4 separate regions of the Homo sapiens genome follow, and regions 2, 3 and 4 are each linked to region 1. The links are contacts of gene promoters, found by promoter capture Hi-C in human tissues and cell types (Jung and others, 2019). All regions are on one chromosome and are shown on one strand. The core of a region is centred on a gene start or on the middle of the fragment in contact, and the rest is flanking DNA. Distances in the headings are between cores, read along the strand shown. Region 1 holds the start of KCNA10 (potassium voltage-gated channel subfamily A member 10). Region 2 has its middle 60 kb from the start of KCNA3. Region 3 has its middle 24 kb from the start of KCNA3. Region 4 has its middle 13 kb from the start of RBM15.

Region 1 (2,985 bases), core at 320-2,819:
GTAGACTGCACTGGAGAAGAGGATGACTCCAATGAAGAGAAAGAAGATGAGCAACCCCAACTCCCGCATGGACGCCTTCAGTGTTTGCCCGAGGATCTGCAGCCCCTTGGAGTGGCGCGAGAGCTTGAAGATGCGGAAGACCCTCACCAGGCGGATGATCCTCAGGATGGCCAGGGACATGTTCTGTTGGGCACTCGGCTCTGTCTCCTGGACTAGCTCTGTGATGAGAGTTGCAAAGTAGGGGATAATGGAGATGATGTCAATGATGTTCATGATGTTCCTGAAGAAGTCAGTCTTGCTGGGGCAGACCACGAACCGGAGCACCAGCTCGAAGGTGAACCACACGATGCAGGTAGACTCCACCATGAAGAAAGGGTCGGTGAACATGGTCTGGGAGAGGACTGTCTTGCTCATGTTGAGATTGGGGTCTCTGACCACCTTTAGCTCCCTATCCTCCCGGAACTCTGGCAGTGTCTCCAGGCAGAAGATGGTGATGGAGATGACCACAACCAACACCGAGACCACGGCCACAGCACGGGCAGCGCTGGAACTTTCAGGGTACTCAAAGAGGAGCCAGAACTGACGGTGGATGTCATTGGTGGGTAGCAGTGTTTCAGGGTCTTTGATGAAGCCTTCATCCTCCCGGAACTGGTCCATGGCCTCACTACCCAGCTCATAGAAGGAGATTTCATCAGCAAAGATATCAATGGGAACATTGGCTGGGCGCCGAATTTTCCCACCAGATTGGTAATAATATAGGATTCCATCAAAACTGGGCCGGTTCCGATCAAAGAAATACTCATTTCTCATGGAGTCAAAGAACTGCATCCTTTTTTCCCGGTCTCCCAGGAGAGTCTCTGGGAACTGACTAAGGGTTCTGAGCTGGGTCTCAAATCTCAGCCCAGCAATGTTGATGATCACCCGCTGGTTTCCTTCATTTAGGACCACTGGCTCAGGCCCTGGGGGGTCAGCATAGTCTCCCGGAAGCTTGGAGAAGGCCGTCTCATGGTTGGTGCTTTCGCTGATGAGGATCTTCCCGTTGGAGAAGGAGCTGCCCCCAGGCCGGCCTTTTGGGCTGGTTGAGTCGAAGTCTGTGGCATAGCCTGGCTCTTCTTGGATTTCATCTGAATTATCAAAATTGACCAGCGCAACCTCCATTTCTTTCCAGCCACACACATCCATTCTAGGGGAGCCAGGGAAGAAGCATGAAGATCCTCAGCCTTCACTGCCTGCTGTGAGCTATGGAGAAGAAGAAGTTCATTATACAAGATCCAGGGCAGAATACAACTGGCCCTTGTTTATTGAGGTAAGGTACACCAATGGGCTAATCAATGACTTATTTGTAGCTTGGGAAGGAACGTCATGGTTATTTTGGCAGCATGCTTCCCTTAAAATCATTTTGTACCCCTGAGTTTGCATAAACTAATAACTAGGAGAAATTGCAAAAAAAGGATCCTGGCAAAGAAGGGGAGATTCTCCCCAGCAAAGGATGGTCTCCATATGTGATGGCAGAGGGGCCATACTAAAAGAGGAAGTTAACATTCCTTAATAATAAAAAGCATGATCTTGTATTTGCATGAAGCCTTCTGTCTCACCAAACACGTCTCCATGCCCAATCTCATTCGTAATGCCTCTCTTTCACACCAACAGCCAGTCCCTCACACATCCTTTTGGTCATGTCTTCAAAATATATCTAGAATTCAACCATTTTGCATCACTTCCACCCCTGCTTCTGGACCAAGTGGTGAAGGGTGGAACCAGATCTATGAACCCAATGGGGATTCTTTAGGGAAGGAAAAACAAGACGCTGGGTTGGCCAATCGACAATGTCCTCTAAATGACCCCTCACCTGGAAATAACTCCTAGAGTTGTTTTGAAGGTACCTCAAATGAGATAACACGTATGGAATGCTTGGTGGAAAGAAAGATCACTATATTATAGCTATTGTTTTTTGTCAACTTTCCCACATAACAAGCACTTTAGAAACTACCAGCAATTGGAATTTTTTTTGGCCTGAGTCCAAGGTGTCCATAGGAAGTAATTTCATTTTGAGAAATCATTTTAGGTGGGAAGGAAGTAAATAATTGTGTGTGTCTGTGTGTGTGTGTGTATATGTGTGTGTGTGTGTGTGTGTGTGCGCGCGCACGCTGGAGGTGGGGTTAGGAAATCATGCCCAGTGGGCTTGGACATCTATACACATAGACTAATATTTCTTTCCTCAGGTTCATTCTAGCTTCAGTTTCAATTTAAGAACACTGAACCCAGGCAGGCTGGGGGTGGGAGTGGGAGAGAAGTAAGGGACTTAACCTCAGGCAAAATCTGTAGTGGTCACAGCCTTGGAGAGGTTTCCTTTACAGGCGACAAGGCTATCCTGCAGTGTAGTGTTGTAGTCTTTTCAAAGTGATTCCACATTCACTTATCTCACTAGATGACAATAATCACGTGAGGTTAGATGTTATCTCTGTTTTGCAGATGCGGAAACCAAGTCACAGGGACAAAGTGACTTCCTAAGGTCACATAACTAGTGCTACAGAGTCCTGACCTAAACCTGGCCATGGCCTTCTGGCCCAGGGCCTTTCCCACTAGACCATGGAGTCCCTATATAGGAGCTGAGCCTTGTGGGGAGCTGTAGGCTAGGGCCACAGAATTGTCAGGGGTCCAGAGCTCTTTCCATCCCATGACCCCTTTTCTCAGTTCAGGTGCCATGTGTTGAATGATGAGCTCAAGTCTGGTTGGTCAGCACTGGTAGAGTACCCATTCTACCTCTCAGGAGTATGTGGCCATTGCAAACGGCCTAATTTCACGGAGCTGCTGCTTCCTCAGTTGTGGAATGAGGAAGGATGTACCCACTGCCAAGCATGCCAGGTGCCAGCCTGCTCTGCAAGGCTCGGTGAGCAGTAGGATGGCTGGGAGGCAGGATGGAATCTGAGAATAGAATCAGTCCACCCGAGTTCAAATCCTGGCTCTGTACATGGTAAAGCCCTG
Region 2 (3,035 bases), core at 121-2,620, 220 kb after region 1:
TGCTTCCTTAAGGCTTCCAAAGTGACAGCAGAATTGGTAGCTGGGAAAGCAGGGAATCCTTGCATAGTGCCCCAGAGTGCCTGTCACACCTGGCCCAGCTTCCCAGTAAACCTATTGATGCCCTCTCATCTAGAGTCCCATCTAGACCAGGCATACTATCTCTGATAATAATAAAAAATACTCATTGTTGGCATGTGCTGTCTTAAGTATATTATCTCAGCTGACCCTCAAGGCATTCTACAAAGTAGATAATCCATTTTACAGATGAGGAAGTAGAAGCTTACAGAGGTTAATGTTCCTAAGGTCACATAATTCATATGTAGCATAACCAAGATTTGAATCCACACCTCTCTACAAGGCTCTACTTCATGAAGTTCTTCCAGTTCTTTCCTCAGTTATTCTCTAGACACCTCCTTCCCCTTTTCTCTTTCCAGCCTGATGAATAAATGCAGAGCAAGAGCTGTCATTGCTTCATCTTCCCAGGATCTTGGAATCACTTGCATAAGTCAAAGAGAAAGGTAGGATAGGCAGAGATAGTTAATTTTGCTTCAGTCTCCTTTCTAACCCCAAATTGTTCTTTCCAAGTATTTTATCGAGCCGCTGGGCTACCTCCTAGAGTGAGACCCTTCATGGCATCTCTCTGGCCTCTCTGTCAGCTTCTACTTCCATGCCCAGAACAGTCTCTCTTTGAAAGGTAATGGAGACAAAGCTTCAAAATAATTCTTCTGTAGATCTTTATATAAACATGTGTGAGGGCTTTTAAGAGGAGAGTTATGACTTCCAGCAAGAGTTTGACCTCCTTTCTTTCCTTTTCCTCCCAAGGTGGATACATCCCAGATACCAGACAAGTAGTTAGCTCATCTTTGGCTCATGAACCGCAATGGGGCTAGAAAGGATGTTATGTTTATCAACATGACCTCTATCCTTAAAATCCTGATTCTGTCCCCACCACCCCCCCTTTTTTTTGGCCTGGCTGTTCCGTTTTGAGAGCATCACTATTGGGTGTGGATGGGGAGGTGGAGAGGAGAAGGACTAGGTTACTGGCCCCTGATTCTCTAGGGCTGGTCTGGCCATGCTCAGAGGCATGGGAAGAATCAGGGACATTCAGAGAAATAAGGGCTCAGGCTAAAGAGCTGACAGCTGGGCTTGTGACTGATACAGCAGTAGCCCTGAGCGATGCCCCCATGGGAAGCCACTATCCTGTAGGGAAAGGGCCAGTCAGTTCTAAAATCAAAGCTAGATTTGTAGGCTGGAGCTGTGGGAGCCAGAGCCCTCTATGCCTGTGAGGCTGCCTGGAGCTCCATGATGTAAGTCAGAGTGAGAATGCCCTGCCAAGCCTTTTCAGGGAAGGATTGGCTCAGGGCCAAAGTTACCTCCCACCCCTCTCTCTGCCAGTTCTCCTCATCCATTTCCATGACTACGGAAAAGGGTAGAAATACACAGTCATTTGATCACCCTTCATCTCGCCACCCCAGATCATATCCAAAAGGAGCAGAGGAGGACACTGAGTGGGTGGGCAGTGCCAAGCAATTGGCTTTAGGCTACTGAAAACAGTGGCTCTGGGGGAGTGATGCTCCAGTCCCCTGCAGAGCTAGAGCCAGTCCCTGGTCCGTCCTCCATCTCCCCCTTCCCATGAATAATGTTTTGATGCTCTTCGTAGGTTCCACATTTCTGTGCTGTGACCTACGGTTCCCTGCATAGGACCCTGCAGCCCTCCTTCCAGCTGTCTTTAGCGCCTTGTTTTCCTTAGTCAAGTCCTGCTCCTGGGTAATGTTTGTTTGCAGCTGAGGGCTGCAGAGATGGTGAGATGGCCCCTTCTCTTGTGGGAAGGAAAGAGAAGGGCAGTTATTGACCAGGCAAAATGATGGTTTGTCCTTTGGCTTAACAAAGGGCAAGTGGCTGGGGTGGCAATGGGAGATCAGGAAGCATTTTCAGAGGGCGTGGGGAATGTATGGGCATGTGTTCCAGGGTACTTTGACAAGCAAGGTGTTATTGGTGCGGGGGACTGCAGAACTGTTAGCACTTAAAGTAGGAAGTAGCTGGGTACTATCTCCAGGAGAAGGAGCTGAAGTCTCTTGAAAACATCCTGGAGGACTTCTTGAGGGCTAAGCAGACATTGCTGCTGATGATGGTGATGATAATGATGATAACAAAATCTTCCTTCCAGGGGCCTACCGTATGTATACCTACTGTGTACTTTAAAACAGCTCTTCATTGGACCATTAGCAACTTGAAATCAGGATGTGGTCTCCATCTCTGTGTCCTCAGTGCCTAATCCTAAAAAGGTGGTCAGTAAATCCCATTTCTACACTCACCAAGCTTCTGCTCTGAGACTGACAGTGCTGGGTGCCGGGAGTTCAGGCATAAATGGAGCCCCATTCTCTGCCCTCAAGATGCCCAGAGTACCAGGGGGACACAAACATGAGAACAAAAACAAACAGTGCAGCTGAGAGATTGTAATGCAAACGAAGTACAGTGGGGCCCCAACTCTGTCCTGGGCTGAGGAGGGGCTTTGGAGAGTGGTCACTGCAGAGCTGGGTCTCAAAGGATGTTCGTTGGCTTCAACTGAGGATGACAGGCAGGGAGCAGTGGTCTAGGCTGGCTGTGGAAAGCTGACTCTGCCCAGCTACCTTTCCCTTTTCTGGCTTTAGTCAGGAAAGCTCCTGTGTGGCCAGAACAGTTCTTAAGTAGTGGTGTGAGAAGAAAAGCAGGAAAGACAGGAGGACCTCTTGCTAGATTCAAAACTTAAAGGAAAGCAGAGATAAAAGAAAAGTCTTCAAATCTGATTCCTCCATTCTACAGTCCTGTTGGCTTGGGTGTGCCCTCTCCCTACCCCCACCCTCCACAATGGTTTGTCCTTGTTTCTTCCACCTGCTTCTGACAGGGAATAAAGAGGAGTCACTTATTGCTTTCTGTCCACCCACTCAGTTCCTCGTAGCTGCAGGGCACTGAGAGTCCTGGACTGCTGCATTAACGGCAGCCATAGGCAATCTTGCTGCAGCCATGCTGGGGAGCCTGGGGGTGCACTGAACCTA
Region 3 (3,179 bases), core at 469-2,968, 130 kb after region 1:
GAGTTGGTGAGGTTGACAATTGATGTATGAGAAAGAAACTAGTATTAAGGAAATGTTCAGTGTAGAAGTGGAGACCAAAGCCAGATTACAGAGGAATAACACTGTAGCCGAAAGTCAAATAAATGAGGGGTCAGGAAGTAGAGACAACTTCTTATTAAGAAGTTTGGCTTTGAGTGGAAGGGGGCAAATAGAGCTAACAATGGTCAAGGAAACATATTCACCGATCATAGATTCTGAGGTGGGGACACACTGAGGATAAGGAAAAGGCAGATGTTATTTAATACAGTCAAGTTCTGGAGGAGGTTGAACAGGATGGACTGGAGCTCCAGAGATTGGGAAAACTTTTCCACTGAAGTGAGAAGGAGAAATACTCGAATATTTTTGAAAGAATAAATGAATAGACAAAGGGAATGATGGTTGACTCAGTCTGAAGAGCTTGGATTTTTATTTATCTTGGTGTCTCACTTTAAGGTAAGGGGATTGGATCTTGAGGCTTGCTGAGGCAGGACTAGGCTCGCCAATGTGAACAAAGTATAAGACAAATACAACGACAAGGGCTTTCTTCTGCTCTTCTTTAAGATTTTCTGATAATAATGCTCTCAGTTTCTTCACTTCTTAGGGAAGTCAGAATTTGAGATAAGTGGGGTGATGGGGGGGTGGAAATGTGACTATACAAAAAGAACTGCAGATGAGGAGGCAGAAAACCTTGTATTCTAGTCACTTTCTGACATTTACTGACCACATGACCTTAGGTAAATTGCATAACTGTGCATCCAGTTTCTTCTTTTATAAAAAGCATGTGATACTACCTTCTCTGCCTATTTCAGAGAATATATATACTTTATATATTTAAGTATATAGAGTTGCTTTGAACTATATATGCATAAAATATTGTAAATATTAGAAAGCACAGTACAGATATAATGCCCCATTAATGTATATTCCAGACATTCTGAGAATGTGGGTTGCCTCTGAGGGGTGCCCTGTAGAGCTGTCTAATCTTGTCTAACTATACATACATGTATGGCATGCCCCTGGAGTTCTGTTTGCTAGTTTTTTTCTTGGCTATTACACATGCTGAGAGCTTGGCCTGATAGTGCAGAGATTACTACTGGCGTGGAAAGTGCCTGCAGGGAGCAGCATATTAAAATCACAAATTCAATACTTTCTCGAGACTAGGACATACAAAGTTAAAATAGCCTTATAAATTGCCTCCAGGAATAAAGGCAAAAATTAACTCTACCTCAAAAATTTTCATCCACATTTATGAATGTCACTTTCCTCTCTCTTATTTCCATCTCTATTGCCACAAATTAAGACAAAACACAAACATTTTCCTCTGCAGAATTCCTCAGCTTCTCTATAGAGGTAAATGAAAACTAGACTTAAGATATATTTATCATCGATTATTCAGGATTCCAGATTCCTATTAGGCCCTCTGACTAACTTACATCATGCTGTCTCTGATTACTTTTAGATTCAGGTTATATGGAAACAACTGTCTGTTTTCATGGCTGGCATAATGGGTATAAACTAGTAATACATGGCATCTACATTGTAAAATTTAATGAATAGTGCCTATGAATCCATTTGTGTTCTTCACCTTCATTTAGAAGCATTTATTATGCCAAATCAAACCAGGCATGGGTGAGGGACTGTGCCACATTTATTCATTTCCTTGTCAATTGTGTGTTTTGAAATCAGATTTCTATTTGTTCCTTCTCTTGTGGCTCCATTTCCTAAAAAATTACTTCACTGACCTTACGTTTTAAGACAGTATTGTCCCTGGAATTTTAGCTCCTCATTTGGCTTTTCTAATTCAATGATATAGTCTCCTCCTCTATGACTCAAGTTACCAGATATCGCCAAATGTAAAAAGGATTTTCTGAAACAAAATAACCAATTTGATTGTGATTAATGAAACCTATAAACAGTAGATCTAAGGGAGAGAAAGTTACAAGATTTATAAGGGTTTTGGTACAAAGTACAGAAAAGTGAATGGACGATTGAGTGGGTCCTAACTCATAGGAGGTGTGCAGCAGTAATTGTGTACTAATTTGTCTCTGTTGAAATCCAGCAGAAAGGTGTGAATTCTTTTGGATAGAGGCATGGTTCAAAGACGATATAGGTAATCCCTTGGAAACAACCTGCATCTCTTAATTTACTCTGTGATTGTTTCCAAAAGACTTAAAGATTTGGTCCCTTAAAATGAAATACTTTAGGCCTGGCATGGTGGCTCATGCCTGTAATCCCAGCACTTTGGGAGGCTCCGGTGGGCGGATCACCTGAGGTCAGAAGATTGAGACCAGCCTGGCCAACATGGTAAAATCCCATCTCTACTAAATATACAAAAATTAGCTGGGTGTGGTGGCACATGCCTGCAGTCCCAGCTACTCGGAGGCTGAGGAAGGAGAATCGCTTGATCATGGGAGACGGAGGTTGCAGTGAGCCAAGATCATGCCACTGCACTCCAGCTTGGGCAACAGAGCAAGACTCTGTCTCAAAAAGAAAAAAACAAAACAAAACAAAACAAAACAAAAACTTTACAAATAGTCACTAATGGAGTTCACCACCAAAATTCTATGACAAGAAAGCTTAAAAAGTCATTTCTCATATCAATTGGAGGATTAGAAAAATATGTTTTGTTCTTGTCTCTAATAGCTAACACCACATGTGTAAAGCCATCTAAATCTACACTTAGTTTTTTTAGACAAAGTAAAATTCCAGATGGAAACAAGAGAGAGGGCCTCTGTTTTGGTGATGTATCATTTGTTGACATTCCAAAAGTAAAAACACGTTTGAGTAACTAGCTATTATTAGGAAAAAGAAAAAGAGTAAGGATCAATATTGCTAAGCACAAAATGAGAACAATTGGTATGTAAAATGTGAATGCTAGAAATTATCCAAGAGAGAGGGCCTCTGTTTTGGTGATGTATCATTTGTTGACATTCCAAAAGTAAAAACACGTTTGAGTAACTAGCTATTATTAGGAAAAAGAAAAAGAGTAAGGATCAATATTGTTAAGCACAAAATGAGAACAATTGGTATGTAAAATGTGAATGCTAGAAATTATCCTCTTATGATACAAAAACACTGGGCATACATGGAAAATAAATATTGAAAACAAAATGTTCTTAATATTTGACCATTCTGGATCTAAAGAGGATCCTAACCTACTA
Region 4 (3,052 bases), core at 70-2,569, 170 kb before region 1:
CCTCCCTAGACATTCTGGAATTTGTTAGGACCAGCATGACTTAGGAGTCTTTGTTCTTTTACAAACCCCTCAGGTAATTCTGATATATTCTGTGGTCAGTGGGCCATGTGTTGAGCAACACTGGCCCATAGAGAGTAGAGTACTAAGGTAAACTTAGGATAATGTCATATTTGAGGCATGGGAAGAGAAGATGGTGCTGGAAAAAAGCCTAGATAGGAAAAAAAGAATTGTGTTGTCTCAGAAACTGAGAGGAGCTTCTAGAAGATAACTTTAAAGCTGTTGCAGCAGGCAAGGAGAACAAAACTGCAATTGCCATGGAATTTATTACTTAAAATTGCCACTTAAGTAACATAACAGTTTTCTAGTCATGTAATTATTTCTCCAAGAAACTCAATCTAGATTACTATTTAATTTTGCCTCATAACAGTCCTGAAGATGGGCCACTGTTTTGTTTATGAAATGCTAAAGGGACACCAGAAAAGTTTTGTGACTAACTGAAGGATACACAGCCAGGAACTGATTGAGGTATCTTTGAGTTTTCAGATGTCTATCTAAAAATACTGTGACTATAGTCTTAAAATTGAAAGTGATGCTGGGATTGAGTGTGTACACATGAAACTTATTTCCATTAATGGACCATCACCTATATCTACTACTCCTAAGTTATCAATAGGATTGAGACAAAGGCATTATAGGTAAAGTTGAGTGTATCTTTGTCCTGTAAATGATTATTTTGAATTACAGTATCTATACTGCATTTGTGTTTGATAAGTATAGCCAATGAACTATTCAAATATTTGAGTACATATTATATATCAGACATTATTCTAGATCTTGGGAGTGTCTTTGTGAAAAAAAAAAAGAGACGTTTTTCTCTTTTCTTGTGGAGCTTACAGTCTGGTGGAAGAAAGGAGGTGGTAAGCTATAAATTAGGGCCTTTAGGCTCCAGACAAAGGGTTTGGATTGTATTCTAAGTGCTGATTGCTATGGGAAGACATTGTAGGTTTTTAAGCAGAGAGTGATGTGATTTGATCAATATTTGACTACCTGTCTGAGGAAAGTAATAAATTTCCTTCAAATGCCAAAGAAAATAAGTTACTTAGCATTTCACAGATTCTCTGTCAGATTGTAACTATGTTCCTGTTCAGAGATCAGCACTGTTCTTTTATTTAAATACAATAATAAAGATTTTATTTCTTTTTAGGGCTCATAGTTGTTGACCATTCTGAACTTTCAAAGCAGTCTCCCTTCTGAAGATGCCTCATTTTCTGAATGTGCTGCTTCATATTTTCTGCTTTCAATAAACTGTCATGACAGTTTCCACTGTAGTCATATATATGACTGATATAACACACTGACCATGCTTTCTATATTTCATAACTTGCAGTTTTTCTAGTGATATTTAACCAGACTCCCTTGCTAAAAAATAGTTTAGAGGGTCTTTTTGTGAAATGGCTGTTATCCTATGCAAATAAGATACATGTGTGTATACAGTTTTTAAGTGCTGAATTTATCTGACCTTTCTGAGGTAACCAGCAGATTCCTTTTTACCTAGGAAAAGGACTTAATGAAAAATTTTTATGCATAAGCCTAAGTCATTACACTAGTGTCTGCAATATAATTATTACAGGTAAAATTATTAACACTTTGGGATGCTGTATTCGTATATGTTTTTTATTACACAGTTTAAGACCTATTGGGAAAATTAATGTTTCATAAAATTGATTTTCATTTTAGCATATAGAAATTGACTATCAGAGGCCAGGCACAGTGGCTCACGCCTGTAATCCCAGCACTGTGGGAGGCCAAGGTGGTTGGATCATGAGGTCAGGAATTTGAGACCAGCTTGGCCAACATAGTAAAACGTGTCTCTACTAAAAATACAAAAAATTAGCCGGGCGTGGTGGCGCATGCCTGTAATCCCAGCTATTCGGGAGGCTGAGGCAGGAGAATTGCTTGAACCCGGGAGGTAGAGGTTGCAGTGAGCCGAGATCACACCATTGCACTCCAGCCCGGGTGACAGTGCGAGACTCCGTCTCAAAAAAAAAAAAAAAATTGCCTATCAGGCTGGGCGCTGAGTCTTGCACCTGTAATCCCAGCGCTTTGGGAGGCCGAGGTGGGAGGATTGCTTGAGCCCAGGAGTGCAAGACGTATCTCTTAAAAAAAAAAAAAAAAAAAAAAATTGAGTATCAATAGTTTTACCTAGCTCCCAAGATAAGTATCTTTCTTTCTTTCTTTTTTTGTGATGGAGTCTTGCACTGTCGCCCTGGCTGTAGTGCAATGGCGTGATCTTGGCTCACTGCAACCTCTGCCTCCTGGGTTCAAGCGATTCTCCTGCCTCAGCCTCCGGAGTAGCTGCAATTATAGGTGCCTGCCACCACACCCGGCTAATTTTTTGTATTTTTAGTAGTGTTGGGGTTTCACTCTGTTCACTAGGCTGGTCTTGAACTCCTGACCTCGTGATCTGCCCACCTTGGCCTCCCAAAGTGCTGGGATTACAGGCATGAGCCATCGCGCCCAGCCTACGATAAGTATCTTAATATATGCCATTTGTGTATATTTATGTACAGAAACACTTCAGTAAACTAGACCCCTTAATTGTAATTTTTCTGCATTCTATGGCAGAGGTCTCAACTCTGGCTGTACAATGGAATCACCTGAGGAACTTTAATACCAATGACTGGGGCCCACTCTCAGAGATTCATATAAATTGATGTAGATTGAGTGGGTTTCTGCAAAGGCCCAGTTTTGTTTTCATTTTGTTTTAAGTGCTCCCAGGTGATTGTAACGTGCAGTCAGGGTTGACAACCACTGCTCTAGAGACACATTTTATACCTACAAACACACACAATCAGCCTTTTAAGGATTGCTTGAAAATCAAAACACAAAACTTTGAGAATGTAATTTGGGTTCAGTACAGTATGTATATTGCTCGGTCTTCTAGAATCTGTTATTGAAGTGTGGTCCTCAGACCAACAGCATTAGTCTCAGCCGGAAGCTTATTAGAAATGCAGAATTGCAGGGCCTTATCCCAAACCCACTGAATGGAACA

Evidence for each region. Contacts are between HindIII fragments. The study calls those that stand out against the background at their distance.
Region 2: a fragment that was not itself captured here is called in contact with the fragment with the promoter of KCNA10 in region 1 in 2 of the 25 tissues and cell types used here (dorsolateral prefrontal cortex and spleen).
Region 3: a fragment that was not itself captured here is called in contact with the fragment with the promoter of KCNA10 in region 1 in 2 of the 25 tissues and cell types used here (ovary and thymus).
Region 4: a fragment that was not itself captured here is called in contact with the fragment with the promoter of KCNA10 in region 1 in 2 of the 25 tissues and cell types used here (hippocampus and stomach).

The regions. Positions count from the first base shown.
Region 1 is chr1:110,517,606-110,520,590 of GRCh38, forward strand. It overlaps KCNA10 (potassium voltage-gated channel subfamily A member 10), which reads right to left and starts at 1,570. Exons shown (of 1, transcript NM_005549.2): 1 at 1-1,570. The coding sequence starts at 1,182. The HindIII fragment of the contact is 7,025 bases long and covers 1-2,985 here.
Region 2 is chr1:110,732,997-110,736,031 of GRCh38, forward strand. No RefSeq gene overlaps it. Among named protein-coding and RNA genes, the nearest start is that of KCNA3, 60 kb to the left of the region's middle. The HindIII fragment of the contact is 4,663 bases long and covers 1-3,035 here.
Region 3 is chr1:110,649,755-110,652,933 of GRCh38, forward strand. No RefSeq gene overlaps it. Among named protein-coding and RNA genes, the nearest start is that of KCNA3, 24 kb to the right of the region's middle. The HindIII fragment of the contact is 3,152 bases long and covers 143-3,179 here.
Region 4 is chr1:110,350,764-110,353,815 of GRCh38, forward strand. No RefSeq gene overlaps it. Among named protein-coding and RNA genes, the nearest start is that of RBM15, 13 kb to the left of the region's middle. The HindIII fragment of the contact is 6,528 bases long and covers 1-3,052 here.